Linked DNA regions of Homo sapiens: region 2 is linked to region 1. The links are contacts of gene promoters, found by promoter capture Hi-C in blood cells and fetal thymus (Javierre and others, 2016). All regions are on one chromosome and are shown on one strand. The core of a region is centred on a gene start or on the middle of the fragment in contact, and the rest is flanking DNA. Distances in the headings are between cores, read along the strand shown.

Region 1 (6,880 bases), core at 2,529-5,028:
GGGTTGCCCCTCCACACCTGTGGGTGTTTCTCGTAAGGTGGAACGAGAGACTTAGGAAAGAAAAAGACACAGAGACAAAGTATAGAGAAAGAAATAAGGGGACCCAGGGAACCAGCGTTCAGCATATGGAGGATCCCGCCAGCCTCTGAGTTCCCTTAGTATTTATTGATCATTTGTGGGTGTTTCTCGAAGAGGGGGATGTGTCAGGGTCACAAGACAATTGTGGGGAGAGGGTCAGCAGACAAACACGTGAACAAAGGTCTTTGCATCATAGACAATGTAAAGGATTAAGTGCTGTGCTTTTAGATATGCATACACATAAACATCTCAATGCTTTACAAAGCAGTATTGCTGCCCGCAGGTCCCACTCCAGCCCTAAGGCAGTTTTTCCCTATCTCAGTAGATGGAGCATACAATCGGGTTTTATACCGAGACATTCCATTGCCCAGGGACAGGCAGGAGACAGATGCCTTCCTCTTGTCTCAACTGCAAGAGGCATTCCTTCCTCTTATACTAATCCTCCTCAGCACAGACCCTTTACGGGTGTCGGGCTGGGGGATGGTCAGGTCTTTCCCTTCCCACGAGGCCATATTTCAGACTACCACATGGGGAGAAACCTTGGACAATACCTGGCTTTCCTAGGCAGAGGTCCCTGCGGCCTTCCGCAGTTTTTGTGTCCCTGGGTACTTGAGATTAGGGAGTGGTGATGACTCTTAAGGAGCATGCTGCCTTCAGGCATCTGTTTAACAAAGCACATCTTGCACCGCCCTTAATCCATTCAACTCTGAGTTGACACAGCACATGTTTCAGAGAGCACGGGGTTGGGGGTAAGGTTATAGATTAACAGAATCTCAAGGCAGAAGAATTTTTCTTAGTACAGAACAAAATGGAGTCTCCTATGTCTACTTCTTTCTACACAGACACAGTAACAATCTGATCTCTCTTGCTTTTCCCCACAGTCAAGGTTGAGAATCACGATTTAGGCTCTTGAGGCAGACACCCATTAATGCAGGTGTACTAGATAAAGCTCAGTAAAACCAAATATCTTCCACCCTTGGTTCTGCGGCAGGATATTTTTGTAGTCTGGGCGTCTTTCCTTGGGATAAATGTAGCTTGCAATGATTTTGATGGAAATGGACTTTTCTTGGATCACGGCTTGGAGAAAGTTTTGAGCAGAGTGAGGAAGGTTGCAATGGCAACCGTGGAAAATGGTAGACAAGCTGAGTAGGGAAACAGAAAGTGATTTCTGGGCCTGTGGAAAGCAGAGACCATAAGATTACCTTAGGACTCTTAAACAAAATATATTTTTCCCACTCACCATTAGCCGCATGGGCAAGGAAAACAGATTTTTTTTTTTTTGACATAGAATCTCGCTCTGTGGCCCAGGCTGGAGTGCAGTGGCGTGATCTTGGCTCACGGCAACCTCTGCCTCCCAGGTTCAAGCGATTCTCCTGCCTCAGCCTCCCGAGTAGCTGGGATTACGGGTGCGAGCCACCACATCTGACTAATTTTTGTAGTTTTTTTTTTTTTTTTTTGAGATGGAGTCTTACTCTGTCGCCCAGGCGAGAGTGCAGTGGCGTGATCTCAGCTCACTGTAACCTCCGCCTCCCAGGTTCAGGTGATTCTTCTGCCTCAGCCTCTCGAGTAGCTGGGACTACAGGCATGCACCACCATGCCTGGCTAATTTTTGTATTTTTAGTAGAGACAGGGTTTCACCATATTGGCCAGGCTGGTCTCGAACTCCTGACCTTGTGATCCTCCCGCCTTCGCCTCCCAAAGTGCTGGGATTACAGGTGTGAGCCACCGCACCTGGCCCTAATTTTTGTACTTTTAATAGAGATGGGTTTCACCATTTTGGCCAGGCTGGTTTCGAACTCCTGACCTTGTGATCTGTCTGCCTCAGCCTCCCAAAGTACTGGGATCACATGCATGAGCCACCACGCCCGGCCGGAAAATAGATATTCTGATTGAATCAGAGTTAACAAACTTCCCATGCAGTTGCAGACAGTAGGGCAAGGGAGTTAAGGATTTTAGTACCAGAGTGGCTAAAGTGATGGACCCTAGAGTCTAGGGCCTAATGGCAATGATGAATTCAAGAGAAAGTTTTCTTTCTGCTAGATTGTGTGTGGCATACAAACACAATATTCCCTTCTAAGGGTGGTCACTCCTTTCCCTATTTCATAGGATTATGGTGAGGCAAACACAGAAGCCCGCCGTCATCCTTGCGGGAAGGCAGGTGACCAGGCTTGGTAAATCACACGGTCCTTTCCCCCTTGATTGGTCCATGGTTGAGCACCAGACCCAAACAGGGCTAATCATAGTCCTTTGTAACTGATATTTGGGAAGGATAGTGTACTCTGAGGCAACATTATATAGAATGAAAGTCTTCAATGTGGTGATCTTGGAACTGACACCTAAAAACAAACTGGCTGGCTGGACGCGGTAGCTCACGCCTGTAATCCCAGCACTTTGGGAGGCCAAGGTGGGCCTAAGGTCTGACCTAAGGTCAGAAGTTCGAGACCAGCCTGACCAACATGGTGAAACCCCGTCTCTACTAAAAATACAAAAATTAGCCGGGCGTGGTGGCTGGCACTTGTAATCCCAGCTACTCTGGAGGCTGAGGCTGGAGAATCGCTTGAACCCGGGAGGTGGAGGTTGCAGTGAGCAGAGATCGTGCCATTGCACTCCAGCCTTGGCGACAAGAGCGAAACTCCGCCTCAAAAAACAAACAAAAACAAGCTGGAGGCCGGGCGCGGTGGCTCATGTCTGTAATCCCAGCACTTTGGGAGGCCGAGGCGGCCGGATCACCTGAGGTCGGGAGTTCGAGACCAGCCTGACCAAAATGGAGAAAACCCGTCTCTACCTAAAATACAAAATTAGCCGGGCGTGGTGGCACATGCTTGTAATCCCAGTTACTCGGGGAGGCTGAAGTAGGAGAATCGCTTGAATCCGGGAGGCGGAGGTTGCGGTGAGCGGAGATGGCGCCATCGCACTCCAGCCTGGACAACAAGAGCGAAACTCCATCTCAAAAAACAAACAAACAAGAAAACAAGCTGGCTGTGCAAAATTACAGAGGAAGTAACAAGGAAAGGTTCTGAGGTGAGAATGGGCCAAGCTTGCTCAGGGAACCCAGGAAGGCTAGCTGCAGAATGCTGTTTCCGTGGCCTCGGCAGCTTAACCTAGGCCTTTACTCTTAACCTTGGTAATTCCCACGCAATCTTGAGATTTCAGGCCAAACGTCACTCCTGCAAGCCCTTCCGGAACTCAAAGCATGTCTCCCTTCGCTCCCGCCGAGGAGAGACCTGTTCCCAGGATCTGCAGCCCTGTGCTTATCAGACCCACGGAGTCTGTGGAAAGGAAGGATGGGATAAGAACGATGCGGGTTGGGAGAGTTAAAAGGGTCGCGCAAACGGTCCCCGCGGGAATGCGAAGCGGATTCTCGAGTTCTTGAGCCTAGAGCAATGCTTGGGGAGCGACACGAGGGCGCAGAGCGGCAGATCGCGGAGCGGAAGTTCATCCCCGGAGCCGTTCTAGGAAACCCGGAGGACTCAGGTCGTCAATGATTCCGGGGCTGAAGTGGGCATCGACGGGTGCACTTTGCTGTTCCAGGGAGCCGGCTCGGCAGGCGGCGGCGACGTGGAACTTGGGCTAGGGCTAGAACCGGCGAAAAGCAAGCCGGAAAAGGCAAGGGGGCGTCGGTGCGCTGACCACCTGTTCCTCCAGCGGAGTGCGACGCGCGCCGATTGGCTGGAGTGCCGCCCGGGTACCGGAAGTGGCCGATGCCCGTCGCCAGTGACACCGGGACAACAGCTGCGGGCTCTGTGCGAGCGGCCCAGCAGCGCGGAGCCTCAGCGGAGTGAGCGAGCGCGGGGCAGTAGCGGCCTGCGGTGAGACCTCATTCCGTCGCGGCTGTGGGGGTAGGCGGGGGCTGGGCTCCCAGCTCCCTAGAGAGCCGAGCGGAAACCCTACGTTTAGGCCCGTTCTGACCGGGGTTCGCTGTGTGACCTTGAAGTTTATGCCTCCCTCCATTCCCCCCGCCCCCAGGCCTTCATTTCCACCTGCACACAGAGAGGGTGGGGCCTGGACACCGCCAGGGACAGTCCCAGCTCTGGTTTGGTGCCTGTCAGCCGTGGGGGTGGGAGAAGCAGGGACACTCCCTTCTGTACCGAGGTGGGGACCCGTGGGAGCTGTGGTTTTCTCAGACATTCCACCCCCAAGTAAACCGCTAGGACGAAATGGCGGGCAGTGTCACAAACTTAACGCCCTAGTGGCAGATTGTGCCCTGTGCTGCCAGACAAGATATTGGCTTATGAGGGGTGGTCGTGAAAAGGAGACAGGTTTGAGCTGCAAAGATAGAGCCCTATTGTGGGTCAGAGGGAGAAGAGAGGAAAGGAGGTTAACAGTGCCATAAATTAAATATCACCCAGATTGGGAAAAGGAACTTATTTTTACAAACAGTTATCGACACCAGCTATGTGTCAGACACTATCCTAGGCTCTTTAGATATAATGATGAATGAAATATCCAGTTAGCCATCAAGAGTATTACAGAGGCTGGGTGCAGTGGCTCATGCCTGTAATCCCAGCATTTTGGGAGGCCTAGGCGGGAGGATCACTTGAGCACAGGAGTTCAAGACCAGCCTGGGCAACATAGTGAGACACCATCTGTACAAAAAACAAAGAAATTAGTTGGGTAGTTGGGTGTGGTGGCGCATGCTTGTAGTCCCAGCTACTTGGGAGGCTGAGGTGGGAGGATTTTCTTGAGCCTGGGAAGTTGAAGCTGCAGTGAGTCTGGGCAATAGAGCCAAGACCCTGTCTCAGAAAAAAGGGAGGTATTGCAGATTCATTATATATATAAGACAGTTACACAAATTCACTTAACATTTACCAGGTATCTGAAATATGCTAGGTACTCAGAATACCAGGATGAATGGAACAGCATCCTTGCTTATGGTCTAGAGAAGAAAATAGGTATGAAAAATTAATAATGCAGTGGGGTAGCTGCTACAAGGTGAAGGAGTAGCTGTCTGCCTTAGAGCCTGGGGGTCAGGGAAGAAAATGGAGGGGGTCAGCTGGGCGTGATGGCTCATGCCTGTAATCCCAGCACTTTGGGAGGCAAAGGTGGGCGGATCACCTGAGGTCAGGAGCTCGAGACCAGCCTGGCCAACATGGTGAAACCCTGTCTCTACTAGAAATACAAAATTAGCCAGGCGTGGTGGCAGATGCCTGTAATACCAGCTGCTTGGGAGGCTGAGGTGGGAGAATCGCCTGAGCCTGGGAGGCGGAGGTTGCGGTGAGCCAAGATTGCGCCATTGCACTCCAGCCTGGGAGACAGAGCGAGGCTCCATCTCCAAAGAAAAAAAAAAAAATAGGTATCGTGGTTTCAGGACTGATTAATCCAGTGGCCCTGGCAGCATCTCCCTTGTTTTTCTGAGCTTTAGCTGCCCTCATCCACAGGCTGGTAGTGAGATGGCAGCAGCAGGTACAGGCAATAATATATGGAAGTATTTTCCTATGGTTCTCTCAGGATGGCAGGAAACTATTCCCAGAAGCTCCCAGCAAACGTCCTCAAAATATTGACCCAGATGAAGGTGGATGTCCATTTCCAAACCAGGAATTCCCGAATCCTTGCTGTTTCTGAACCAGTGCCTTGCAAGAATTAGGGCATTTATTTGACTGGGTTAACTCAGTTGGAGTGTCCTGCTGGAGCTCTTGGATGAGGTTAGATCTCTGGCAAGGAAAGCAAAGCCACTGCAAATATTTTTGCTCACATACCCCGTAAAATAATTTTGGAAGGTTTGTGTCTCTTTATACATTTGCAAGTTGACATCCAAAACATTTCCATTTCTCATCATAAATTTTAATGAGTTTCAAAGGATATTATTTTTGAGGTATTAAAATTTCGACATTTCAAAATAAAACCTCATCCCAGTTTCCCAGATACCTTCCCTTGGTTACCTTCCCTTGGAGCACAAAGAAGGTGCTCATCACATCCTTCACCCTCTCTGTAACCTCCATCTCTTAGCACCCCACTCCTCCCAGCCCCCCTTCATTTCCATCCGTATCTCACTTAGTCATCTCAGCTCTGTCCTGACTAACCTCCCTAGGCCTCGCCTCCTCAGTCTTCCACCACACATCTCCCTGGATTCTCAGGCTGCCAAAACTGCCACTGAAAGAAGTCAGGAGAGCATGGTGATTGGCCCCTCTTCACTCTGATGCTCTCCAGCTTGCTTGTTTCATGAGGTGGTGGTAAGGGTTAATGTCTGTAAGTTGCTTAGCACATGGTGAGAGCTTATCATTAGCCTCCACATCAAAATGTCAGTGCTGCCTGGCTCATCTCCCCTCCATATTTATCCCACCCCGTGCATGCTACATTGAAATCCCAATGTTTTTTCTGTTTCTGTTCTTTTTTTTTTTTTTTCTTTTTTGAGATGGAGTCTCACTCTGCACTGGAGTGCAGTGGCACAATTTTGGCTCACTGCAAGCTCGGCCTGCCCCGGGCTTCACACCATTCTCCTGCCTCAGCCTCCCGAGTAGCTGGGACTACAGGTGCCTTCCACCACACCTGGCTAATTTTTGTATTTTTACTAGAGGTGGGGTTTCACCGTGTTAGCCGTGATGTCTGTTTCTTTTCTTACTCCTCCTGTACTTCCTGGCCTCTTGCTTGCCCACTTTCTGTCCGGAATGCTATAGTGCAGTGGTCTTCAGATGGAAATATGTGGAGGGGGTACACAGACACTTTCTGTAACATCTTTGGGCACATAGATTGTTGAATGGAAATCAACTTCTAGATCCTTGACTTTATTTTGTATCCTTGCCTATGAGTGATCTGCTTAAGAATGGGCCTGTGGCCTGTAGGTTTCTCTTCTCTCACATTTTTT
Region 2 (7,303 bases), core at 1,271-3,770, 100 kb after region 1:
GCTTCCCAAAGTGCTGGATTACAGGTACGAGCCACCGCACCTGGCCTACACTCATTACTTTCACAGGGTTTTTTCCCACATTTAAACTTGTCACTCGACTAGGAAGTCAAGATTGAAATGGCTCTTTCCATGAATAATTTAGTTTTGGGGTTGTTGCCAAAGTGATTTATAATGATTTTAATAATGATAGACATCCCTTAAAACATTCTCAAGTAATTAGACCCCTGGGGCTGGTGCAGTGGCTCATGCCGGTAATCCCAACCCTTTGGGAGGCTGAGGAGGGAGGAGTGCTTGAGCCCAAGAGTTCAAGTCCAGCCTGGGCAACATAGTGAGACCTCATCTCTTTGTATGTTAAAAAATAAATAATTTAAAAAATTGTATCGTTGGGACCATATTCTAGTGTCAGTTCTGAGACAGAAAAAAAAAAGGTGATTATGTCCAAGAGCTTTTGGCTTTTCCACTTGATTATACTTACGTTTGAAAAATCCAGTAGGTATTTTCTCTGCTTTCCCACCTTCCCATGGTTTTTTTCTAATAAAACTCATTTGTAGTGCAATAAGATGTGGTCTCCATCAGACTTTTCCTAGTTTTACTGCATTCATTAGGTTTCTGCTACCTATTAGAATAGGTCCTGTTTGTAGACTCTTACAGTCTTCAAATTCCTTTCCAATGTGAAGTTTCTGGTGCTTAAGAAAAGCTGTCCACCCACTGAAGGCCTTACCACAGTTGCTACATTCAAAGGGTTTCTCTCTGGTATGAATTCTTTGATGACTGACAAGGTGTGAGTTCTGACTGAAGGCCTTCCAACATTCAGGGCATTCATAGGGTTTCTCTCCAGTATGAACACGATGGTGTCTAATAAGATCTGAGCTGCCCCTAAAAGATTTCCCACATTTGTTGCATACATAAGGTTTTTCTCCACTGTGAATTCTATGATGTCTCAGAAGGTCTGAGCTCTGATTGAAAGTTTTCCCACATTCTTTACATTCATATGGTTTCTCTCCTGTATGAGTTACCTGATGTCCGATGAGGTCTGAGCTGCCCTGGAAAGCCCTACCACACTGATTACACCAATAAGCTTTCTCTTCTTGGTGAATTTTCTGCTCTCCCCTAAGCTCCTCATCCTTGCTGAAGGTTTTCTCACGTTCTTCAAGTTTCTCTCCAGCATGCAGTCTCTGATGTTTGAGGAAAGCTGTGTGCCACATGAAGAGTTTCCCACATTCCTTACATTCATAGGGTTTCTCACCACTATGAATTCTCCGACGTTGAATAAGGAGTGAACGCCGCCTGAAGGCTTTTTCACATTCAGTGCACTGATAGGGCTTCTCTCCAGTGTGGATTTTCTGGTGTGTGACAAGGTGGGACCTCTGGCTAAAGACTTTCCCACATTCACTACATTCATGAGGTTTCTCTCCAGTATGAACACGATGGTGTTTAATAAGATCTGAGCTGCTCCTAAAAGATTCCCCACATTTATTGCATACGTAAGGTTTTTCTCCACTGTGAATTCTATGATGTCTCAGAAGGTCTGAGCTCTGATTGAGTTTTCCCACATTCTTTACATTCATATGGTTTCTCTCTTGTATGAGTTACCTGATGTCTGATGAGATCTGAGCTGCCCTGGAAGGTCCTACTACACTGATTACACCAATAAACTTTCTTTTCCTGGTGAGTTCTCTGCTCTTTTCTAAGCTCCTCATCCTTGCTGAAGGTTTTCTCACATTCTTCAAGTTTCTCTCCAGCATGCAGTCTCTGATGTTTGAGGAAAGCCGTGTGCCACATGAAGAGTTTCCCACATTCCTTACATTCATAGGGTTTCTCACCACTATGAAGTCTCCGATGTTGAATAAGGAGGGAACGCCGCCTGAAGGCATTCCCACATTCACTGCACTGATAGGGTTTCTCTCCAGTATGGATTTTCTGGTGTGTAGCAAGGTGTGACCTCTGGCTGAAGGCTTTCCCACATTCACTACATTCATAGGGTTTCTCTCCAGTATGAATACGATGGTGTTTAATAAGATCTGAGCTACCCCTAAAAGATTTCCCACATTTGTTGCATACATAAGGTTTTTCTCCACTGTGAATTCTATGATGTCTCAGAAGGTCTGAGCTCTGATTGAAAGTTTTCCCACATTCTTTGCATTCATATGGTTTCTCTCTTGTATGAGTTACCTGATGTCTGATGAGGTCTGAGCTGCCCTGGAAAGCCCTACCACACTGATTACACCAATAAGCTTTCGCTTCCTGGTGAATTTTCTGCTCTCCCCTAAGCTCCTCATCCTGGCTGAAGGTTTTCTCACATTCAAGTTTCTCTCCAGTATGCAGGCTCTGATGTTTGAGGAAAGCTGTGCGCCAAATGAAGAGCTTCCCACATTCCTTACATTCATAGGGTTTCTCACCACTATGAATTCTCCGATGTTGAATAAGGAGTGAACGCCGCCTGAAGGCTTTCCCACATTCAGTGCACTGATAGGGCTTCTCTCCAGTATGGATTTTCTGGTGTGTAACAAGGTGTGACCTCTGGCTAAAGGCTTTCCCACATTCACTACATTCATAGGGTTTCTCTCCAGTATGAACACGATGGTGTCTAATAAGATCTGAGCTGCCCCTAAAAGATTTCCCACATTTGCTACATACACAAGGTTTTTCTCCACTGTGAATTCTATGATGTCTCAGAAGGTCTGAGCTCTGATTGAAAGTTTTCCCACATTCTTTACATTCATATGGTTTCTCTCCTGTATGAGTTACCTGATGTCTGATGAGGTCTGAGGTGCCCTGGAAATTCCTACCACACTGATTACACCAATAAGCTTTCTCTTCCTGGTGAATTCTCTGCTCTTCCCTAAGCTCCTCATCCTTGCTGAAGGTTTTCTCACATTCTTCAATTTTCTCTCCAGCATGCAATCTCTGATGTTTAAGAAAAGCTGTGCGCCCACTGAAGGTCTTCCCACATCTGTGACATTCATAGGGTTTCTCTCCACTGTGGAGTCTCTGGTGTTCAGTAAGGTGAGAATGCTGCCTGAAGGCTTTTTCACATTCATTACATTTGAGGGGTTTCTCTCCAGTGTGAATTCTCTGATGTGGGACAAGGTGTGAACTTTGACTGAACATCTGTCCACAGTCATAACATTCATAGGGTTTCTCTCCAGTGTGAATTCTGTGATGTATAATAAGATCTGTGCTTTGACTGAAAGCCTTCCCACATTTATTGCATAAATATGGCTTCCCCCTACTGTGGATTCTCTGGTGCAGGACAAGGTTTGAGCTTCCCTTAAAAGCCTTCCCACACTCTTTGCACTCATAGGGATTCCCACCACTGTGAATTTGCTTATGTCTCACCAGATTGGAGCTCTGATTGAAGTCTTTTCCACATTCATGACATATATAAGGTTTCTTTCCTGTATGAATTCTCTGATGTATAATAAGATTTGAACTTTGATTAGAGTCTTTCCCACATTCATTACACACATATGGCTTATTTCCTGTATGAATTCTCTGATGTATGATCAGGTTTGAACTCCTGTTGAAGGTTTTTTCACATTCCTTACATTCATAGGTCTTATTTATATTATGAATTTTCTGATGTTCAGTTAATCCTGACTTCTGTTTGAAGTTTTGGCCACTAACCTCATATCTATGGGAGCTTTCTCCTGCAGAAAGTATTTTTTCTCCTTCATTACATCCATGGCCAATCTCTCCCACAATGGCTTTCTGGGGGATAATATGCATTTCCCTGATACCGCTCTCTTGGGAAGGGAGATGTCTCATTGCATCCTTTAAAGGGCTTACCCAGTGCTTCAATAATCTGTCCTCAGAATTACTGGTTTCAACTAACTCACATTCCTGGGTGATTTGTCTTTGGAGTTTTTCGGATGCAGCCCTTGCTGACTTCTTTTCTTCAGAAATTTCCATCTTTGATTTCCATTCCTTCATCTTATTCCTGTCTTCAGAATCTGAAATGATAAGTAGATCATTCTATAATTCCTAAAATACAAATATCATCTCTTCATTATACTGGGCAGTCTAAGAGGGAGGAACAAAGAACTCAGAAGACCTTTCCCTGCCAAAGCTGAGATGTGGCTTTCACTAGCGACACTGTGGCTAACACAGGAACCTGTGCTACCACATACCCTGTTGGTGAAAAAACCCGCCAGGGTGCAGGCTGGAGCTGGGCTGTGGGAGTGGCCTAAAGGGTGGTGAATTAATTCACTGGGGGAGGAGGGCAATCTGGAGTTGGTCCACAGGAAGTGGCCTGTTGGATGGGGGAGGAACTTGCTGGATGGTGTGGCTGGGCCTGAACTGGTTCACAGGAAGCAACCCACTAGGGTAAATGCCACCAGGCCTCCCACAAGTTGATCTGCTAGCAGCCACATAAGTAAATAATTAAAATAAATAAATAAAAATAGAACAGCACACCGGTACCAGGAAGTTAGTTTCTCTTCCCATGGCCACGCATTGTCCCTCCAGCATCCTCTGTTGACAAAGTCAAATCTTGTACGAACTGGCAAAGGAGAAATGTTTACAGAATCCAGCTTTGTAACAAAAGCAAACAAAGATGGGTGGATCTGGAGTTGAGAGGCAATAAATTAATAACCAGCATACTGCTCTTTCCTCCCTATATATCATGATAGTTAAGCAAATCTGTACTATGCCTCAGAATAAAAACGTTTGGCTGTCATTTCAATAGAAATCAATTCTCTTCTTCTCAGACCTCACATTTTTCTTTCTGATATTCTGATGGAATTGCCTCCTTTTGTGTGGCAATTTGATTTCTTCTGAAATTACAAGATAGATGAGCTTATTGCTTTTGAGGGTCCACGTTATCAAATCCCTGACCTTCCCCAGTGGATTAGTCCGTTTTCATGCTGCTGATAAAGACATACCTGAGACTGGAGAGAAAAAGAGGTTTAGTTGGACTTACAGTTCCACATGGCTGGGAAGGCCTCAGAATCATGGTGGGAGGTGAAAGGCACATCTTACATGGTGGTGGCAAGAGAAAATGAGGAAGATGCAAAAGCAGAAACCCCTGATAAAATCATCAGATCTCATGAGACTTATTCACTACCATGAGAATAGTAGGGGGGAAACTGCCCCCATGATTCAAATTATCTCCCACCATATCCCTCCCACAAAACATGGGATTTATGGGAGTACAATTCAAGATGAGACTTGAGTGGGGACACAGAGCCAAACCATATCATTCTGCCCCTGGCCCCTCCAAATCTTATGTCCTCACATTTCAAAACCAATCATGCCTTCCCAACAGTCCCCCTAAGTCTCATCTCATTTCAGCATTAACCCAAAAGTCCACAGTTCAAAGTCTCAACAGAAACAAGGCAAGTCCCTTCCTCCTATGAGCCTGTAAAATCAAAAGCAAGCTAGTTACTTCCTAGATATAATGGGGGTACAGGTATTGCTGGGTAAATACAGCTGTTCCAAATGGGAGAAATTGGCCAAAACAAAGGGGTTACAGGGCCCATGCAAGTCCGAAATCCAGCAAGGCAATCAAATTTTAAACCTCCAAAATGATCTCCTTTGACTCCAGGTCTCACATCCAGGTCATGCTGATGCAAGAGGTGGGTTCCCATGGTCTTGGGCAACTCCACCCCTGTGGCTTTGTAGGGCACAGCCTCCCTCCTGGCTGCTTTCACGGGCTGGTGTTGAGTGTCTGCAGCTTTTCCAGGCATACGGTGCAAGCTGTAGGTGGATCTACCATTCTGGGGTCTGGAGGTCATTGGCCCTCTTCTCACAGCTCCACTAGAAGGTGCCCGAGTAGGGACTCCATATGGTGGCTTCGACCCCACATTTCCCTTCTGCAGTGCCCTAGCAGAGGTTCTCCATGAGATCCCTGCCCCTGCAGCAAACTTCTGGCTGGGCATCCAAGCGTTTCCATACATCTTCTGAAATCCAGGTGGAAGTTCCCAAACCTCAATTCTTGACTTCTGTGTACCTAAAGACTCAACACCATGTGGAAACTGCCAAGGCTTAGGGCACCCTCTGAAGCCACAGCTTGAGCTCTATCTACATTGGCCCCTTTCAGCCATGGCTAGAGCGGCTGGGATGCAGCGCACCAAGTCCCTAGGCTGGACACAGCATTGGGACCCTGGGCCTGGCCCACAAAACCATTTTCTCCTAGGCCTCCAGGCCTGTGATGGGAGGGGCTGCTGTGAAGACTTCTGACATGCCCTGGAGACATTTTCCCCATTGTCTTGCGGATTAACATTCAGCTTCTTGTTACTTATGCAAATTTCTGCAGCCTGATTGAATTTCTCCTCAGAAAATGGGTTTTTCTTTTCTATCACATTCTCAGGCTGCAAATTTTCTGAACTTTTATGCTCTGCTTCCCTCATAAAACTGAATCCATTTAACAGGACCCAAGTCACACCTTGAATGTTTTGCTGCTTAGAAATTTCTTCCACCAGATACCCTAAATCATCTCTCTCAAGTTCAAAGTTCCACAAATCTCTAGGGCAGTGGCAAAATGCCACCAGTGTCTTTGCTAAAACATAACAAGAGTCACCTCTGCTCCAGTTCCCGACAAGTTCCTCATCTCCATCTGAGACCACCTCAGCCTGGACCTTATTGTCCATAATGCTGTCAGGCCTTTGGTCAAAGCCACTCAACAAGTCTCTAGAAGTTCCAAACTTTCCCACATTTTCCTGTCTTCTTCTGAGCCCCCCAGACTGTTCCGACCTTTGCCTGTTCTCCAGCTCCAGAATTGCTTCCACATTTTGGATGTCTTTTCAGCAGCACCCCTGGCACCAATTTACTGTATTAGTATGTTTTCATGCTGCTGATGAAGACATACCCGAGACTGGGAAGAAAAAGAGGTTTAATTGGACTTACAGTTCCACATGGTTTGAGAGGCCTCAGAATTATGGCAGGAGGCAAAAGGCACTTCTTACATTGTGGTGGCAAGAGAAAATGAGGAAGATGCAAAAGCGGAAACCAATGATAAAACCATCAGATCTCATGAGACTTATTCACTACCATGAAAACAGTATGGGGGAACCACCCCCATGATTCAAATTATCTCCCACCAGGTCCCTCCCACAACATATGGGAATTATGGAAGTACAATTCAAGATGAGATTTGGGTGGGGACACAGAGCCAAACCATATCAGTCAGTCACAAAAACACATTTCTGAGCTCCTTGGGAGAGTCATTTTATTTTGGTCCTGCTGATAGGGACTCTAGTCATTAATCTTCTTGGAGTGAATGAGCAGCAACATGGCACAGTGATTAACAGCATGGACTGAAAGGCAAACTGCCTGAGTTTGAAACCTGGCTCCACCACTTAAT

Evidence for each region. The method cuts DNA at HindIII sites, captures the fragments that hold promoters and counts their contacts. A CHiCAGO score of 5 or more calls a contact.
Region 2: a fragment that was not itself captured here is called in contact with the fragment with the promoter of ZFP3 in region 1 in 2 of 17 cell types (M1 macrophages and M0 macrophages); the score reaches 6.2 in M1 macrophages.

Annotation. Positions count from the first base shown.
Region 1 is chr17:5,074,689-5,081,568 of GRCh38, forward strand. It overlaps ZFP3 (ZFP3 zinc finger protein), which reads left to right and starts at 3,779. Exons shown (of 2, transcript NM_153018.3): 1 at 3,779-3,887. ZFP3-DT (ZFP3 divergent transcript) reads right to left here and starts at 3,425. Exons shown (of 2, transcript NR_186458.1): 1 at 3,199-3,425; 2 at 990-1,252. RefSeq lists enhancers at 3,247-4,118, 3,486-3,555. The HindIII fragment of the contact is 11,376 bases long and covers 3,114-6,880 here.
Region 2 is chr17:5,180,324-5,187,626 of GRCh38, forward strand. ZNF594 (zinc finger protein 594) reads right to left here. Exons shown (of 2, transcript NM_032530.2): 2 at 1-3,953. The coding sequence starts at 3,933. The coding sequence ends at 1,510. Among named protein-coding and RNA genes, the nearest start is that of ZNF594, 7.9 kb to the right of the region's middle. The HindIII fragment of the contact is 576 bases long and covers 2,233-2,808 here.